Linked DNA regions of Homo sapiens: all the other regions are linked to region 1. Evidence: promoter capture Hi-C in 16 types of primary human blood cells and fetal thymus (Javierre and others, 2016). All regions are on one chromosome and are shown on one strand. Each heading gives the region's core, a stretch centred on a gene start or on the middle of the fragment in contact. The rest is flanking DNA. Distances are from core to core; before and after follow the strand shown.

Region 1 (2,700 bases), core at 108-2,607:
ATAAAAATGGAATATCTTCAGTCACCTAGATACTTCTCGTCCGATCATGAAGTAACCGCCAACGGGGAAAGAAAATTCCCCTTTCAGCAACAGTGAGGTCTCTCTTCTGCTCTTTTTTCATGACACTTTTCTGGGGATGGGGGACAAAATAAAAATTCTCTGAGGCTTCAGGTATGCTGAGAATGAATATAAACTGATGACTTAAACATTCTGCAATCACTTAATAGAAATTTTAGAATCACAGTAAAATCTCATATTATCTGCAACCTAAGCTAGGGCAAGTGATTTTTTTCTTATCCATTTACACGCACTTATTTGGAAACCAGTGACCGTCAGCAGAAGACAAGCAACTAACAATACAAAATATACAAGATAGAACTCTCCCGACAATATCTATAGTTTAACGCCACTAACGTGGCTTCAGTCACTTAAAAAATGTTTGTATTCAAATGCAGTTTACACAAAGATGAGTCCTGCTATCCTTGTTATTTCTTGTTCCCAAGGACCGAGGGACAAAAAACTGAAAGTTGAAAAGATCTTTTTTTTTTTTTTTTTTTTTAATTCCGGGGGAAGGTTTAGAGTTCATGGGATCAGAAGGTATCTTCCTAATGAGAACTACTCGGACCAGTCACTTTTCTCGGCGGGGTAACCGCGAATCGTGACCAGGCGCCAAGCCGAGGGGCGGGAGCTCCGCGCTCGGCGCTCACCTGTGGCCGAGTCCCTGTCCTCAGGTGGAGCCGCCAGAGGGAGCTCGGACCCCGGTGTCGAAAGACGCCTCTCCGTGCCCGTCCGCGGCTGGAAGAACCTAAGCAAGTTTCAGTCTTGGACAAGTCTCCCCTCTGTAGGAAACATTCAGGCTAGGAGTTTCCTGATCCGCCCCGCCTGTTGCATTTTTTCACTGGCGTCCTCCGACCCTGCCGCCCCCATTCTCCGCTCCCCGCTCTGGGGCTGAGTGAGGCAGGATGGCGAGAGACCCCTGAGCCACCAAGTCCGCTTACCTCAGGCAGATCCCGACGGGGGCTCGGCGCCGCACTGGGCCCCAAGGGAGACGGAGGTGGAGAGTTCCAGAAAACTGCTCTGCACGGCGGGCCAGGCTCCCGCGGGGCTCCGCAAGACCCCCGCGTCGTCTCCCGCGCTACGGCAGGCGCTGCCCCAGCTCGGTCTCCTCAGCCGCGCTCGGTCCCCGCGACCCGCACGGCCCGGACACGCCCGCCCTCAGGAAACGCCGGACGCTTGTGGGGGCAACCACGGACCGCAGGACAGAGACCCGCGGGCGGCGGGTTCTCTCGGTGGCGCCGTATCCAGAGCAGCGCCCGCGTGCCCAGGCGGTGATGTCGCCGCGGCCGAGGATCCTCTGTGCCAGCTCCGGCCGCGCAGCCCGGGGAGGGTGAGACGGCGACGCGGGCCGGCAAGCGGGGGCGGGGCGGAGGCAGGACGGGGCGGGGTTGAAGGCGGGGCTGAAGGCGGGGCCTCAGGGAAGGCGAGAGACAGCGACGCTGGCTGGCGGGCGTGGGGCGGGACGGAGACAGGACAGGGCGGGGTCAGAGGCGGGGCTTCGGGGAGGACGGGAGGAGCCGTGAGCAGGCCGGCGGCGGGCGGGGCGGGGCCGAAAGCAGGTGAGGCGGGGCCAAGCGCCCCGGGTTTCTAAGCGGAGGAAGCTCTAGGCGTTTGTGTTCTGGGCTTGCAGCGGTGGCCGCGCGCTCCCGGAGGAGTCGAGCTGGAGGAGGGGACAGTTTGGGAGTGCGAGAGTCTAAAGACGCTGCCAGGCTGGCGTTAAAACCTTTTGGTTATGGGAAGACGACAACTATATAATAGAGCCATAGTGGGGGCTGTGGGATTGACTCAAATGATGGGAGGAGCTGGAGTGGGAGGGGATAAGCCCTGGGACGACAGAAATCATCCTTTTGGAAAGAGCAAGGGCTGGGGAAGGAGGGAATGAGCACTCCCTTGGAACTGAGAGGCAGCCTGGCTGAGCTTGCTGTCCTTTGGAAAAGCAAAACCGAAATACCCAGATTAATATAGGAGGACAACTTCTGTAGCCCAGATGCTAACAAAGATCAAGGGAAAACAGAAAAGACTAATCAGCTTTACTGATGGAAAACAATTTCTCAGGCAGTATAAATAGGGGAAGCATGGGACAAACAAGTAGAAGGAGCCTCTTATTTAAAAATGGGACCTGGTATTCGGTAAAGACCTACATGCAGACAGGAGAAGGCAGTGTGCCCCGGCTACTACGACATGTGAGTGCAGTGCCAGGTCGTGGAAATCCTAGAGCAGGCTGGGACTCCTGTTGCACTCCACACATGGAGCTTCTCACAGATAGCTGAGATGACACTTTGGCATAAACCAACCCAAGCTCTGACCTCAAATGTAAAAAATAATAGCTTAGTAGTAATAAAAATACAGGGAAATATCAAGCTTCACAAATGAACAATTCCATTCTCAGTTGGGGATTAGTAACACATTCAGTCTCTTCATTTCCCATACTATTTTGGTAATATTTAATAAGATATATTTTAACATTTTAAAAATAAATGTCTTGCTTAGATCATTTGCTGCTGAAAATCAAACAGTAGACGACTGCTAGCAGAATAAATTTCAAATCATTTAACTTTGAGGTGAAATGTGGCCTCTAACTCCTCATCACTCTTCTGTTTTGGCCCCGTAGTAACCCCTAGCCCAGTCCAAATAGCCACACTT
Region 2 (2,700 bases), core at 157-2,656, 1.2 Mb after region 1:
ACTGACCCACATGCAAAGGTATATCTTCTGGTAATATCAGTTTACATTCTCGTAAAGAACTGGCATTCAGATCTAAAATAAAAAATTAAGTTGAGAAATAGAGCTTAAATTCATTTCCTACAAAATAAGATTTTTAAATAATCAAAGAAAAATCATGTAACATAATGGAGACTTGTACATATGCTTGTTACCTGTGTCTCCAAGTTCATACAAGAGGAAGCCATCCATAGCAAGGTAATTCTGAAACCTTTCCCTGTTGATCCATGATGACAGATCACCATCTTCATACTCTTAAAACCAAGACAAAGTTGACAAATTACAGTATAAATATGAATTTAAGAGTTATAATAGCTTTAATCTGATAATAGGTATAAAACGCCTGACAGAGAATCATACTTCCATAAATATTGTTTTTAGGAATTTATTGCAAGCATACAATCAAATGTACAGAAGGATTAATGCACAAAGCAATCTTCATTATAGCATCATTAAAAATAGCATAAAAATAATTAAAAATAAAGGAAATAATCAAAATATCCTAAATTGGAAATAATTTAAATAAATTTTGGTATATGTCGATAAAGATCATTTATAAATTTTCAAAAAAACTTATAATTGAACAGATTACAAAACAATACAGGTTACAATACAATACATAACAGCATAACTGTAACTTCGTAAAAGAAAGTATGAAAAGATAAACTCATAGAATGATAAAATGAAGTCAGTTATTCCTAAATGGTTTCCCTGAATCAATGGTTATACTTGGGTCATGGCACTACAGGTAATTTTTATTACAATTTCTTTGCTCTCCTCTCTTTATGATAGTCTTCCTAGTTTACAACTCTTTCTCAAAGGTACAACTAACACAAACACATATAAAATCATAGTACCTTAGCTTTTTTCCAATATAAAATAATTCCTCTGCTAAGCAGATAGAAAATATAATATCTAAGAGAAATATTACATCCTAATTAGAAATGTAATTCTCAAGTAATTGTTCAAAATTATTACAATTGCATAAAAAAGGTGGTGATGTAAAGCAAATGTCTATAAAAGCCTACCAATACATCTGGTTGAAGAATGGATTTTAATGACCTCTTCAAAGGTATGCTTTTTCTTGCATTGCTAAACAAAACATTTTCAAGTTATCAAACCCATAAAATAAGTGATGCAATGCAAATCTCAAAGAATTTATTGATTTAAATTTATAAATTAGGAAAATAAACATAAAACTAGAAATTGATTACTGGGCCACAATGTCCACTGCATGCTAAAAGCAAATTTTCTACGAGATTGCATACAGTGATCAATTTGAATTTCATTCGAAAATAAACTATCCCAAATATCGCAAGTTCTCATTTATAAGTGGGCGGTAAACATTGGGTACATACGGACATAAAGATGGGAATAACAGACACTAGGGAGATGGGGAGGAGGACAAGGGCTAAAAAAACTACCTGTTGGGTACTATGCTTATTACCTGGGTGACGGGATCATTTGTACCCCAAACCTCAGCATCATCCAATACACCCATGTAACAAACCTGCACATGTAGACTCTGAATCTAAAATAAAAGCTGAAATTATATATGTAAGAAAGGAAATATACTCCCAAGTCCCTATTCCAATGCTTCTAAACATTAGCAACAATTAAATATTTAAATAAGGATTCAAAGTAAAGCCTTTGCTTTGTCTGAATGTTTCAGGCAGGTTCTAAATACTACTGCAGGTTAGAGAAATGGGGCCTTTACAATACCTACAGAAACTTAACATATCATATTCCTGTCTTCCTTAAGCGTGGGAGAATGTATCTGAAACACTGAGCTATAACAGGGGGATGCTTTCCTAGGCAGGCTCAAAAACCTGATATCTGTTTATATTTAAATATGTTTATATTTAAACAGATATGATCAGTGTTTTTTTTTTTTTAAAGGAAGAAACAAAGTGCCTCTCTGAATTGCTAAGAAACACATAGTGGAATAAGAACATGAGATTTGAAGACTGAATTTTGATATCATTGATTATTTTATCGTGGAAAAAAAATCTCTTTAATCCTGTTTCTTTATCTGTAAAATGGTAAGAATAGTGATTTTAAGGGAATGTTGTAATGATCAAATATAAGATCACATACATTAAGTACTTATTATATGAGGAGTACTGCAAGCAAAGAGCAGGTGAATAGACTAGGTGTGGCTACAAATTATTTTCCTTCTCATATTTTCAAATACACAAGTTTCTCTGAAGTTCTTTTATAAGCCCAACGTCTAATACAGACATTCAATAAACATCCAATTAATGGATGGCTGAATAAGCATATGATAAACCTGCTATTTAATTACACACCTGTCTCCTTATCTAACATTCTTAGCTATATCCTTTGTAATCCTGGGGTATTAATCTATCTGCCTTATTACCTACCTCACAGATTACTTTGTAAATAAAATGAAAATGTCAAGTATGTAGATAGTACCTTTTATATGACAGCATAAGTGTGTAGTTATTATCTATAGAAACAAATAAAATTCAGCTCTCACATTTATTTAAAGACAATAAAAATCAGAAATGTAGTCTTATGACTGTCAAAACAATTAAAATGCTACTTATAATAAAACAAATTGTTCCTTTTTATTGAAAAGTCTTCTACTCATTTGAATTATTTCAGCAATTAAAACTCTACTGCTCTCATCTAGTCCTAGGT
Region 3 (2,700 bases), core at 190-2,689, 1.2 Mb after region 1:
GTTAACCTCTAGGTATTTCTTCCATGTGAGTATAATAATAGAGTAACTGTGGCTTATAAAGTAGCCTTTTCCCCCATCATCATATAATAATTACCCTTTGTTGAATGCCATGTGCCTAAACAATGCATTAGAACCTTGATCATCGTTGCTTTCTATTCTCATAGCTTCATAAGAACTCCATTACCCTTACTTTTTTTAATCAGGAAATTGAGAGAATTTTCTCAAGATTAGACAGATAATGATGATGACAGCTGGGCTTAGATTCAAAATCTTAACATTCAAAAGCCAAGGATCTTAAGTACTCTTTGTTTGAAATTTGATTCACTACACTCTTGCCTCCAACAAGGCAACATTTCTTGCTGTCATTTCCTTTCTGTTATTTCCCTTCCGTATACTTTTTTCCAATGGATTTTATTCCAGCTGCTCCATATAACACTACTATGATTACTAATAATAACATCATGCTGACTCCATAGAAGAGCATTGCATGGCGACTCACAGTTCTTTGAATGTATTATTCCAATTTATCTGTGCAACAACCCTATGAGGAAAGTTTGCATGACTTCTAGTTTTACAGATAAGTAGCTAAGGCTCAGAGAAAGTAATTCAGTTTTTCAAGATTACCCAGTTAGTATATGGCAGACTCAAATTGTATTCCAGGTCCTCTGATTTAAATTCCAAAGTTCTTTATTTCACAATAGCCAATTATTATAAAGATAAAAACATAAACAATAACCTTCAAACTACTTAGGGATGTGAGGCACCACCAGGCTAGCAAATTCTTGGTTATAGGCAGACTTGTAAAGAATGCCAGTGTATCTCTTATAACATTTTTGACCTCCAAATATTCAAGAAGAAAATGTTAGCATTAAATTTATTATTGTTGGGTTAGCTAATTTACTACAAATAAATTTTAAAATATCCATCAACACTTTCTAGCCTAGAATTTATTTGGCAAGTGACATAATAAGAAAATAATGGGAGACCAAGGCAGGCACATCAGTTGAGCCCAGGAGTTTGAGACCAGCCTGGGCAACATAATGAGACCCTGTCTCTAGCCAAATAATAATGATAAAAAAAAAAATAGCTGGGCGTGGTGGCACGGATCTGTAGTCCCAGCTACCTTGGAGGCTGAGGTAGGAGGATCACCTGAGTCCAGGAGTTCGAGGCTGCAGTGAGTGGTAATTGTGTCACTGCACTCCAGCCTGGGTGACAGAGTGAAACCCTCTCTTAAATAAATAAATAAATAAATAAATAAATAAGCTGGGGATGGTGGTGCATGTCTGTCATCCCAGCTACTCTGGAGACTGAAGTGGGGGGGATTGCTTGAGCCCAGGAATTTGAGGCTGCAATAAGCTATAATAGTGCCAACACACTCCAGCCTGGGTGTCAGAGTGAGAATTTGTCAAGAAAGAAAGAAAGAGCGAAAAAGAGCTAAAGAAGGAGGAAGGAGAGAAAGAGAAAGAAAGAAAAGAAAGAAAGGAAGGAAGGAAGGAAGGAAGGAAGGAAGGAAAGAAAGAAAGAAAGAAAGAAAGAAAGAAAGAAAGAAAGAAAGAAAGAAAGAAAAGAAAGAAAGAAAAGAAAGGAAGGAAGGAAGGAAAGAGAAAGAGAAAGGAAAGAAGGAAGGAAGGAGAAAGAGGAAGAAAGAGAGAGAAAGGAAGGAAGGAGAGGAAGAAAGAAAGAAGAAAGCAAGAAAGAAAGAGAAAGAAATAGAAAGAGAAAATAAGTGGAAGCCAAAGGGACTATAGTAATTTTTAAATTTACATAATCTATCTCCTTATAGCCCCTTTTGGAATCATTCTGTAGATTTGCTTATACCATTATATACATCAGTAACATTTAGCAAGAACAAAAATTAATTGACATTGGAAAAAGTGGAAAACATTTGCATCACGGTGATTTGTGTACAGGGTTATTAGCATGGCTTCTCAGATATAATCATTACTTAATATTCTATCAACCATATTTAATATAACATATATGATTCTTAGACTTATTCTGATGTAACTCATACTTTTTCTTTCTTTCTTTCTTTTTTTTAGTTTTCTAGACCCAGCTGATGCACATGTGTGACTCTCATGATTGCTAGTGAGATTTTCAAATGTAATCATTATCTGGAATGTTATGTCTTTTAAGGACATAGCAGTTTTGGCTTGTTAGGAAAGACTGAAAATCCAATTGAACAAAATTTTCCATAAAAAATTTTAAAACATATTAATTCATAGGAGATAAGAATTAACCATAGATACATTCAAGTAGCAATTTAAGGTGTCAATTATTTTGATTCCTATTTTTGCAATGTCTAAGTTTATTCTTAAATATCATAATACATGTATCTATCTTTCTCTTTTCTTAGAATCATGCAGTAAAATAGAGATGGGTGATTAAATAACTCCTAGGACAAAGAAGCAAGATTAGAAATAGGGCTACTTCTGCTTCTGTGGTCCATTAGCAGACAAAGTGCTGTATAAAAACAGTAAAACAAGGACTACATTACTGAAATTTGAGGAAAGTAACACATCCTGCATCTGACCCAGTGATATGTCCATATATCATTCCCTAAAATCAGGTCTTACAGTTTTTAGTTAATCTTTGCAAAAATTCCCGAGAAATGTGCAGGTTTAAGAAGTGGAAATTCTTACCCACGTCAAGTGTGGGATGAGGACAATGGGTTGGCAATGGATGGACAGTGCTTAAGTA
Region 4 (2,700 bases), core at 196-2,695, 1.1 Mb after region 1:
AACCGTTTAGACAATCACACCAGCGTCTGTAAGAGTAAAGGTTCCAGGTGACCAAGCATTTGCTGTCTTAGGATATTTTGGTGAAAATAATAGGTAAAATTGGATGGATTTATTGCTGCTAGAAGTGGAGAACTTGGGAAAAGAAAATGAGATCCTCTTTTGCTGAAGTTGGGTTACTGAACTGAGAGTGAATGAAATCCTGAAAACTGGCGTGAGAACATGTGGAGAGATTCTGATTAAACTGGGCACCTCGAACACCGAATCCCACCGAGCACCCTTTGTTGGTAGAAGCAGCTTTCTCAACTCTGTGCAGAAGTTTGTCCTCTTTGGCCAAAAACACCTGTAGTTACCTCCTTCCTGGAGGTAGTTGCCAACAGGCCCCAATTTATGAAAATTTACGTGTGACCAGTGAGGAGGTATAAGGCCAACTGAAAGAATGGCATTATTTTGCCCATTCATATTGACTGAAACCCAAGGGTTTGTATCAAAATATAAATAAATCCTAAAACCTAATAAGTGAAGGATAATCCAGTTTTTTAATGGGCAAGGGATCTGAATAGAAACTTATCTAAAGAAGACAGACAAGTGGCCAACATGCACATAAGAAGATACTCAAATTATTAGTCACTAAGGAAATGCATATCAAAACTACAGACGACATGTTATACCCTTTAAGATGATTAAAATAAAAGAGACAAACAATAAGTTTTGGCAAGGATTTGAATAAATTGGAACCTTCATACAGAATAGGTTAAAGTTTGCCTAGGGCTGGTTGGTGAGGGATGAGGAATATAAAGAAAAGGGAGTGACTGCTAATGGGAACAGGGTTCCTTTTGATGTGATGAAATATCCTAAAATTAGGTAGTGGTTACAGTTACATAAGTATGGGAATGTATATAAATAAAACAACAACACTGTGCAATTTAAAAGGTTAAATTTTATGGTATATGAATAAAGCTGTCTTTAAATACAGCTGTCTAAATAAAGGTCTAGGGATATTGGAATGTTAGTGTGGATTTATCAAGTATGACCTGCTCTGGAAAGACCTAGAAGACATATCTTTCCTCACAGCTGTGAGAAATCAACTCAAGGGGGAAGCTCCAGCATTTTTGAAGAGTTCTCTCTTCTGTAAGTCGGAAATCACAAGGAAACTGCTACACTGAAGTGGGCTCTCTACCCAAGAGAAGGAATGGGATTCCAGGATGGCGGAAGCTGTTGGGAGCTGTTGGAACAAAAGAATCCTTTCTTTCCCCTCTGGAGTTTTAATATTTGAGTCTGACAGAAAAACTGACAATAGACCAATTAACAGGAAAAAGGCAAACACATTTATTATGTGCACGGGGGCATCACAGGAAGCTGAGGACTCCATAACAATGGAATTTGGAAGGCTATGTGCCCTTCTTCATCGGGAGAAGGAGTAGAGGATGAAGACATGTTAGAGGGGGAGAAAATAACTTTTAGAGCAGATGAGTGGGCCTGGAAAACAGACAACCATCTGGTACAAAGTCATCTGGACTCTAGGTGTGGTGTCAACTGTAGTCTTCTTTCTGTGATATGCCTCAGTCTCACCCTGTTGATAAGACATCTGGGGAAGGGATTCACAACAATTGACTATGTTCTGGAGGATCTGGCCTTTAGTAGATGGGAATACTTCAGGGAAAGCCCATCCCTGCATTTGCTGTTCCCTAGGAGCTCTCATTTTGAAGTCCAAAGCGGCATATTTAAGGGGATTATTAATATTTCCTGAGCTCCAACAGAGCCAAGTGAGGGCACTTAGTCACTGAAGACAAGGTGAGTTACTGGAATGGCCAATTGTATAACGTCTGATAGTCAAACTAGAACTGAAACTGATGGACAGTCCAGTGAAATTTTACTTGGCCTGATTAAGCGGAAAAGCTGTAGTCTGTTGAACTGAAGTCTGAATTGAATAACCAAAATGAGAGTCATGTCCCTCAATTAATTTACATTTCATACACTCAAAGCCGCTGAAATGGCTGCCCTGTGCCCAAATTCTTACCCCTGAGGCAGGGTGAAGAAAGCCTGAAGCCATCCCATTGAAAAAAAGACACTGCTGCATAGCAAAACAAAAATAATTTACACCTGCAAATCATCCTCTTTATGATCCCACCCAAGGACTCAATCTATTTAACATAATGACAGCTTTGGGTAAGAAAAAATGATCAGATCTTGAGGAATTATAGGATTTATTTCATGGTTCTAAACTGACAATACTTCCTGTGGTCACCGGTCAGAGTAGGAAATTGTGGCTGTCAGATAACTGATGGAGTGTTAGCTGGAGTCTGCCTCACAGTGGGCCACCTTCTGATTATTTTCCTAGCACCAGAATGGTTACAGCATCTGCAAATAACTTGCAGAATTCCCGTGTGTACCTGACCATGGAGTGAAAAGAGAGCAAAACGGAAGCCACTGGAACGGCCCCTGCCTTTGACAATAGTAAACCCAAGGTAGTACACATTCCTGGAGTGCAGAGATTGTTGCCACCATCAAGGACTCGAGAGATGCAGGGGTGGGGATTCCATTCTATTCATCTATTTTGTCTGTGTAGATAGCAAATGGATATTGGAGAATGAAAGCCGATTATTGAAAATTTAATCAGATGGGGACTCCAGTTGCAGCTGTTGTTCCAAATGTGGCTTTGCTAGAGGAAATTCACACATCCCCTTGTATCTGGCATGTGAC
Region 5 (2,700 bases), core at 199-2,698, 1.2 Mb after region 1:
TCAATTAATATTACATTTAATTAGGTTATTCATTTTTATAGACTTAGTCCAAGAGGATCACTTAGATACTTTTCCAGGACTCCGAAGAAATATTTTGGACCTTATTTGTAGTTATTATGCCATTTTTTCATAATTTCAACAGTGTGACCCACTCATGTAATACTTCTGTCTGCTGATAGATAGATGCAGCTTACTCAAGATAAGCAATTGACTAGAACACTTATGATCTGTTATCATCTTTTCCCTGAATTTTAAAAATGTTAAACATTAATGTAATCTCACACTCGTTCATATACTTAAAGTAGGCAAATCCTACTGATTTAAAAAGTAATAGTAGATTGGTTATGGATGTCTCATATATCTTCATCTGACTGAATGTCACACTTAAGAAGTCAATCCCTTGAGTCAGAAAATGTCTTCTACATGATGTATTTAATACTGAACTGTATTCCGCATCCTGTATCAATATAAGAAAGGTATCAACAGTATCAAAAGGACTGAGTAATAAGATTTCAGCAGAAATATTCTGATATCTTGATCTTCTTTGGCACATTTAAATTAATATTTATTTGGGCTGGTCATTATGGATTTAAGATGTTTATTTTTTAAATTTTATTTATTTATTTTTCTTGAGACGGAGTTTCACTCTGTTGCCAGGCTGGAGTGCAATGGCGCGATCTTGGCTCGCTCCAACTTCTGCCTCCCGGGATCAAGCGATTCTTCTGTCTCAGCTTCCCAAGTAGCTAGGACTACAGACATGCGCCACCACCCCGGCTAATTTTTGTATTTTTAGTAGAGACAGGGTTTCACCATGTTGGCCAGGCTGGTCTTGAACTCCTGACCTCATGATCTGCCCGCCTCGGCCTCCCAAAGTGCTGGGATTACAGAGGTGAGCCACCACATAGATTTAATGTATTTGAGTTAACCATAAGTATTTTTCTATTTTCGATGCTGAGATGATCACAAACCCCTATAATCTAGTTCCTGTGTCCTTTTGATCTGATTCCATTAACCCTTGAATGAAACTTTGGCTTATATGAAAACTTGCACACTCCCTTATCCTTTCCTTCCCCCGACTTGGAATCCGTGATCCTTCCAAAATACCCTGGCTTCTTTTCATGGAAAATTGATTTTTGAGGAACTATAATCTGGACTCTACATTTGCATATTAGGTTGGTCCCATCTGAGGTTCCATTGCCTCAAGGTCATTTTAGTGGCCAGAGGGATAAACAATTTTATATATGTATGTATACATATATAATATAATATAAACAATTTTGTATATGTATGTATACATATATGATATAAACAATTTTGTCTATGTGTGTATATAATATAATATATGTTATATGATCTCCTATACAATAATGCTCATTCAGTTATATATCAGTTGTCAAATTCATTTGGAGCAAAACTCTTCAGACAGACAATAGTCTTGAGATTTTGAAATCTCTGAACACCATTTCTACTTCAGTAAAAGTACAGAAAATTGTACGAATTAGTGCAAGCAAAGCTCTTTTTGGAGGAAATAAATCTTTATTTATTTTTATAAAACTGAACACATATCAAAGGAGAATGGCTTACAGTTATTGAGATTTAAGTTATAGCATCTGCTAAATACTGACTATTTTTCTCACATAAAAGTCCTTTCTCAGTCCTTTGGCTTTAGTACTCTACTCTGAGGAACTTTATTCATGTTGATATATTTTGAGTTACTCAAACATTAAAGTTCAGAAAATGGAGAAGTTAATTTCAGTAAAATACACTGCTTCAGGGGGGAATCTTCAATCTCTTTCCTGTGGGCCAGTTTTTATGGAAGCACAGGGCTTTTCTTCTATCGCCCTGTGTATTTTAAATTATTTCTAGTATTTCTATGGTGGATACCATAAACTGTTTGGTTAATAATAACCATAGCTTGAAGTCTTATTCCTTGAAATGTGTATCTGGCATTTCTTGAAGGCCTTCTTTTTTTTTCTCTCTCTCTTTTTTGGGATGGAGTGTTGCTCTGTCACCCAGGCTGGAGTGCAGTGGCGTGATCTCAGCTCATTGCAACCTCCGCCTCCCAAGTTCAAGCAATTCTCTGCCTCAGCCTCCCGAGTAGCTGGGATTACAGGCACCCACCATCATGCTCAGCTAATTTTTTTTTATTTTTAGTAGAGACGGGGTTTCACCATGTTGGCCAGGCTGGTCTTGAACTCCTGACCTCAGGCGATCTGCCTGCCTCAGCCTCCCAAAGTACTGGGATTACAGGCATGACCCACAGCGCCCGGCCTACTTGAAGGCTTTCTACAGAAATGTCTCATAGTGATCTTTCTTTTGTAACCCTCACCTGCCTGCAGACAACATGAATTCATCTATTTAGAGTTAAGGTTTTCCAGTTTTCTCTTAAAATTTTTAGGATACCATAGTTCCCAGATCTATGTATTAAAAAACTATGATTTTGAGTCATCCTTGCTATGCCAGTTACAAGTTTTACAGACCAGGGACCATCATGGCTAAACATCCATCGCACAAGTGTGGAGCTCCCTTCCAGATTCCTGGGCTGCGGACTTCCATAGACTGATTTAGCCTAGGGACAAAATAAAGACATCCAATGTATAAGGAGAACTATATGAAAAAGAAAGATAGAAAAGTTGGTGGGGAAGGTTATGCTAAGGCTAGAGCGACTCAGAGAAAAAGTAGACTCAGTTAATGATCTTT
Region 6 (2,700 bases), core at 85-2,584, 1.2 Mb after region 1:
TGTCATAATCAGTATTCTATTCTCTACTTCTATGAGATATTTTTCTTTCTCTCCCACATATGAGGGAGAACACAGAGTATTTGTCTTTCTCTTCCTGTCTTATTTTACTTAACATAATGTTCTGCAGGATCATATCCTGGAAACAAACTTTTAATTTTAAAGTGCATAATATAGTATTGTTAGCTGCAGGCATGGTGTTGTACAGATTTCTAAAATTTATTCATCTTGCCTAACCTAAACTTTATACCCATTAAACAACAATTTTCTATCTTCCTATCCCCATCTAGCCCCTAGCAACTGCCATTCTATTCTCTATTTCTATGAGTTTGGCTATTATAGACACTTTATGTACATGGAATCATGCAGTATTTCACCTTCTATGACTGGTTTATTGCACTTAGCATAATGTACTCCAGGTTCATCCAAGTTGTCACATATGGCAGGACCTTCTTCTTTTCAAAGCTGAATACAGTGATACATCATTATATGTATATATCACATTTTTTCCGTTCATCTTGCAATGGACATTAGGTTGTTGGGTGTTGGCCACTGTGAATAATGTTGCGATGAACATGGGAGTTCAGATGTCTCTTTGAGATCTTCATTTTAATGCCTTTAGTTATATACCCAGCAATGGGATTGCTGAATTGTATAGTAGCTCTATTTTTAATTTTTTGAGAAACCTCTATTCTGTTTTCCCTAGTCATTTCACCATTTTAAATTTCCACCAACACTGTTACAAGGGTTCCATTATCTCTATATGCTCACAAATGCTTGTTATCTTTTCTGCTTTTGGTAATAGCCTGACAAATGTGAGATGATATCTCATTGTGGTTTTGATTTTCGTTTCCCTGATAATTAGTGATGTTGAGCACCTTTTCATATACTTGATGGCCATTTATATGTCTTCTTTGGAGAAACATCTATTTAGGTACTTTGTCCATTATTAAACTGGTGTGTGTGTGTGTGTGTGTGTGTGTGTGTGTGTGTGTGTGTGTGTGTGTGTTTGCTATTGAGTTGTAGAATTCCATTATATAATCTGGATATTAACCCCTTGTCTGACTGCCTGAACTAGAGTTCCAGATACAATTGAGGATTTTCTCATTGTATGCATCCTGATGAGATTAGACCTGAATATAAAATCTACAGCATGAGCAAACAGGATGAGTGCTAGGCATCCATTTTACTAACTGGTAGTTTTGTAGTCAGCATGGTGGCAGAAATTTCCTAATTTGACAGTTTCAAACAGCTCTTTTCCCAACGGAGTAATTTTCAATTCTTTCATCAGCAGTAGGGATAGCAACCTCCTCTATCAGCAACTTCTGGCAGCAATGATAGCACATTACCCAAATGCTTTGTAGGTAATATGTTCTGGAGTCATTCCTGGAAACATAGCCTAAAGCCGAGTGCTTTAGCCCTTCCTGTTTTACAAGCTATTTAATATGTAGTAAGACATCCCTTTTTCAACCTAGCTAAAGCAGATTCTGTTTTCTGCAATGGAACTCTAAAGTGTAAATTATTTATGTAGTAAAAGTATAACAACATGCGTAGGATGATAAACTCCAAATAACCCAGAATAGTGGATTTGACTGGCAATGTGTGGCAGAGAAAAGCATAGGAGGGAAATGGAATAAGAATGGGACATGCATGGTTTTAGGTCTAACATTTAAGTCTTTAATCCATCTTGAATTAATTCTTGTGTAAGGTGTAAGGAAGGGATCCAGTTTCAGCTTTCTACATATGGCTAGCCAGTTTTCCCATCACCATTTATTAAATAGGGAATCTTTTCCCCACTTCTTGTTTTTGTCAGATTTGTCAAAGATCACATGGTTGTAGATGTGTGGTATTATTTCTGAGGGCTCTGTTCTGTTCCATTGGTCTATATCTCTGTTTTGGTACCAGTACCATGCTGTTTTGGTTACTGTAGCCTTGTAGTATAGTTTGAAGTCAGGTAGTGTGATGCCTCCAGCTTTGTTCTTTTGGCTTAGGATTGTCTTGGCAATGTGGGCTCTTTTTTGGTTCCATATGAACTTTAAAGTCGTTTTTTCCAATACTGTGAAGAAAGTCATTGGTAGCTTGATGGGGATGGCATTGAATCTATAAATTACCTTGGGCAGTATGGCCATTTTCACGATATTGATTCTTCCTATCCATGAGCATGGAATGTTCTTCCATTTGTTTGTGTCCTCTTCTATTTCATTGAGCAGTGGTTTGCAGTTCTCCTTGAAGAGGTCCTTCACATCCCTTGTAAGTTGGATTCTTAGGTATTTTATTCTCTTTGAAGCAATTGTGAATGGGAGTTCACTCATGATTTGGCTCTCTGTTTGTCTGTTATTGGTGTATAAGAATGCTTGTGATTTTTGCACACTGATTTTGTATCCTGAGACTTTGCTGAAGTTGCTTACCACCTTAAGGGGGTTTTGGGCTGAGACGATGGGGTTTTCTAAATATACAATCATGTCATCTGCAAACAGCGACAATTTGACTTCCTCTTTTCCTAATTGAATACCCTTTCTTTCTTTCTCCTGCCTGATTGCCCTGGTCAGAACTTCCTAGACCTAAAACCATAAAAACCCTAGAATAAAACCTAGGCAATACCATTCAGGACATAGGCATGGGCAAGGACTTCATGTCTAAAACAGCAAAAGCGATAGCAACAAAAGCCAAAATTGACAAGTGGGATCTAATTAAACTAAACAG
Region 7 (2,700 bases), core at 166-2,665, 1.3 Mb after region 1:
ATTCTATTTAGATGTGACTCATGAATTAAAGCAATAAGGGGAACTAAAATGAAGCAATAAGCAAGCTTTTTAAAATATTCAACAGCTTCCTGAAAATTCTATCTTGTCTTTCAAAAATGTTAAAAAATGATTGCTTTGAAACTGTAAGTGTCTTATGACAAAAGAAACTTGAAAGAGGAATTCATCAACTCATTAAAAATTATTTACAGCTGTTCAAGTTTGTGCAGAGTTATTTTTAGCTGCGATTAGAAAAAGAGAACAAACAAGAGTTAAAGCAGAACTTTTGAGAAATGTATTTTTTTTATGAGAAAGTAGAACATAGAAAAAAACAAGCTCAAAGAAGAATGCAAGTAAGTGTGGCCACACAACACTTTCAGGGAATGATAATGAAATAAAAATATGAATTGGTTGTGGTATCGTAACATTTATTTCTTTATGAAAATGTTTTGTCATCATGATTTTTCTCCAGGAGGTTTAAATATGTTTTGTTTTGTTTTGTCTTCAGGAACAAGGTGTGGTTATTGATTCTCTAAAATTAAGTGAGGAGATGAAGCCCAATCTAGATGGTGTTGATTTATTCAACAATGGTGGTTCTGGAAACGGTGAAACGAAAACTGGGCTGAGACTGAAAGCAATAAATCTGCCTTTGGAAAATGAAGTAACTGAAATTTCAGCTTTGCAGGTGCATTTGGATGAATTCCAAAAAATCTTATGGAAGGAAAGAGAGTAAGTGCTAATCATTGTCTCCCTTAACCAAGTCTAAGTTTCAAATCACTTAAAATTGTTAATACAGATAGATTGGTCATTTGATAATGTATTTTATCCATGTTTAGTCATTAAGTTTTAGGATTTAAAGAAATTAGTTTGATATATATTCATATGTTGAATTTTAAAATGTAGTTTATAACTTGTTAGTGTTTTCCATTCTTTTAAGTTGACTTTTATCATGACTATGTTTTTATCTTCTCTGGTAGATTCACTTTAATTGTATATGAATTCTTAATGTACAAGGTTAAAATATCCAGTGTATTATTTAAGTTTGACAGCATCTTGGACTTGGTCAGTAAAAATGAATAAATATGTTAATATTAATAGTGGAAAAATCACAATTTTGTGAGATATTTATTACAGAAAAAGTAGTCTTATACATGGACCATTAAGGGCATCAGGCTTTTGCTTAATTGGCCTGGATATTCATCTTTGGTCTGATGTCTTCTAGCTATGTGATGTTGGCTGTTGCCCCTTTGTGAAAATAGCTGTAGTGCTGTTATGTTCCAGTTATCTATTATCTTGAAACAAACTTTTCCAAGTAATTATCATTAAAACATATCAACAGCAACCACCCTGTCTTCTGTTCAAGAATCGCGAGCATGGCTTGGCATGGACATTGTATCTCTCACTTGTGCCTTCAGTTGCAAGGGCTCAAAGGCTGGCAATGCATGGAAGGCTGGGGGCTGCAGCCTCTTTCACTCATATCTGGCAGTCCATCTCGGTTTTCATCTATGCCTCAGTTGGGACACCTGCACTGGGGCTATTTAAGGGGGTGCTTGGCTTCCTCACAACATTGGGGCTAGGTTGCAAGTGAACATCTTAAGAACACAGAGAGAAGAAAACGCCATTTGAATGATTCTGCCTCAAAAGTCAGACCCACTTATCGGTGGTGAGAATCTCAAAGTCTGACTCAGATTAAAGAGAGAGAGGCACTTTCAATGGAAGGAGTGTGAAAACAATTTTATAATAAGGGTGTGTGGGATGCAGTCATTGTGGCAACGATCTTTGCAAAATACAGTCTGTCATAGCCTTTCTCAGTGAATTCTCATAAAGATCAAGAACAAATAACATCTGGGAAAGAGAATAGTAATATGAAATGTTCAATATGGATTTTCGTTTCTATGCAATCAGCTTACAATTTTATTAGCACAATGTGGAATATCTAATATATAAATAAGGTTCCAAAATCTAAAAATAATTATTTTTTATCTCTTAGTTATAAAAATCTTAATAGGCAGAACCAGAAAAGCAAGAAGGATATGTATGCATATATACACACAATGTATTATATAAGTATATATTATATAACAGTTTTAATTTTCCTGGCTTGAATGGACTGAAATAGGGATAAATATGCATGCTAGCCATTCACAAATACAGTAAGTTCTTTACCACTTACTTTCTGCCAGAAGTTTCTCATTAGTCCCTCTGAAATTTACTAGTGCCACCAATTCCCTTTTTCAGATTCTTCATCTGTATTTCACTAGATTAGTAGATTGTGATCATACAAGTATCTATGTACAGAATAAATATTTATTACTCTACCAAGTGTAAATTCCTAATAGAGGCAACCAACATTAGTAGAAAACAGAATAAAAATGAATTTAATTTTTAGGCTCGTACACATAGTGACAATTTTATCTAGCCCTATACATTTCAGTCACATTCTAATCTCCGTGGTTTTACTTCTTGAAGCATTTAACTTTTTGGTAATTATAGACTTCTCTCCAGCCCACATACAATATTACTTCCCCAGTGCAGTCTAATAGGAGCAATGCAGAGCTGTGTTTTTCTAGATGTAAACTTCTATTCTAAGGTGTCAGTTTTAAAGATATGCATGTTCTGTCTTAACACGCTTATCCATATACATATACACAACATATACTTTTTACTTTCTTGGAATAAATGAACAATTCTCAGAGTAAGTAC

The links. The method cuts DNA at HindIII sites, captures the fragments that hold promoters and counts their contacts. A CHiCAGO score of 5 or more calls a contact.
Region 2: a contact is called between a fragment that was not itself captured here and the fragment with the promoter of DSEL in region 1, in 5 of 17 cell types (naive CD4 T cells, total B cells, total CD4 T cells and 2 more). The highest score is 12.7, in naive CD4 T cells.
Region 3: a fragment that was not itself captured here is called in contact with the fragment with the promoter of DSEL in region 1 in 1 of 17 cell types (monocytes); the score reaches 6.0 in monocytes.
Region 4: a fragment that was not itself captured here is called in contact with the fragment with the promoter of DSEL in region 1 in 16 of 17 cell types (naive CD8 T cells, total B cells, naive B cells and 13 more); the score reaches 28.2 in naive CD8 T cells.
Region 5: a fragment that was not itself captured here is called in contact with the fragment with the promoter of DSEL in region 1 in 14 of 17 cell types (total B cells, naive CD4 T cells, total CD4 T cells and 11 more); the score reaches 13.5 in total B cells.
Region 6: a contact is called between a fragment that was not itself captured here and the fragment with the promoter of DSEL in region 1, in 3 of 17 cell types (total CD4 T cells, total B cells and naive B cells). The highest score is 7.3, in total CD4 T cells.
Region 7: a fragment that was not itself captured here is called in contact with the fragment with the promoter of DSEL in region 1 in 2 of 17 cell types (M2 macrophages and monocytes); the score reaches 10.1 in M2 macrophages.

What each region holds. Positions count from the first base shown.
Region 1 is chr18:67,515,363-67,518,062 of GRCh38, forward strand. It overlaps DSEL (dermatan sulfate epimerase like), which reads right to left and starts at 1,358. Exons shown (of 2, transcript NM_032160.3): 1 at 999-1,358; 2 at 1-130. It overlaps DSEL-AS1 (DSEL antisense RNA 1), which reads left to right and starts at 1,184. Exons shown (of 5, transcript NR_033921.1): 1 at 1,184-1,387. The HindIII fragment of the contact is 6,208 bases long and covers 1-2,416 here.
Region 2 is chr18:68,687,476-68,690,175 of GRCh38, forward strand. TMX3 (thioredoxin related transmembrane protein 3) reads right to left here. Exons shown (of 16, transcript NM_019022.5): 10 at 192-290. Among named protein-coding and RNA genes, the nearest start is that of TMX3, 26 kb to the right of the region's middle. The HindIII fragment of the contact is 8,208 bases long and covers 1-2,700 here.
Region 3 is chr18:68,763,815-68,766,514 of GRCh38, forward strand. It overlaps a transcript of CCDC102B not described here. Among named protein-coding and RNA genes, the nearest start is that of CCDC102B, 33 kb to the right of the region's middle. The HindIII fragment of the contact is 4,499 bases long and covers 1-2,700 here.
Region 4 is chr18:68,657,644-68,660,343 of GRCh38, forward strand. No RefSeq gene overlaps it. Among named protein-coding and RNA genes, the nearest start is that of TMX3, 56 kb to the right of the region's middle. The HindIII fragment of the contact is 9,597 bases long and covers 1-2,700 here.
Region 5 is chr18:68,730,375-68,733,074 of GRCh38, forward strand. It overlaps a transcript of CCDC102B not described here. Among named protein-coding and RNA genes, the nearest start is that of TMX3, 17 kb to the left of the region's middle. The HindIII fragment of the contact is 4,512 bases long and covers 1-2,700 here.
Region 6 is chr18:68,747,252-68,749,951 of GRCh38, forward strand. It overlaps a transcript of CCDC102B not described here. Among named protein-coding and RNA genes, the nearest start is that of TMX3, 33 kb to the left of the region's middle. The HindIII fragment of the contact is 5,566 bases long and covers 1-2,700 here.
Region 7 is chr18:68,838,201-68,840,900 of GRCh38, forward strand. CCDC102B (coiled-coil domain containing 102B) reads left to right here. Exons shown (of 8, transcript NM_024781.3): 3 at 506-726. Among named protein-coding and RNA genes, the nearest start is that of CCDC102B, 41 kb to the left of the region's middle. The HindIII fragment of the contact is 2,704 bases long and covers 64-2,700 here.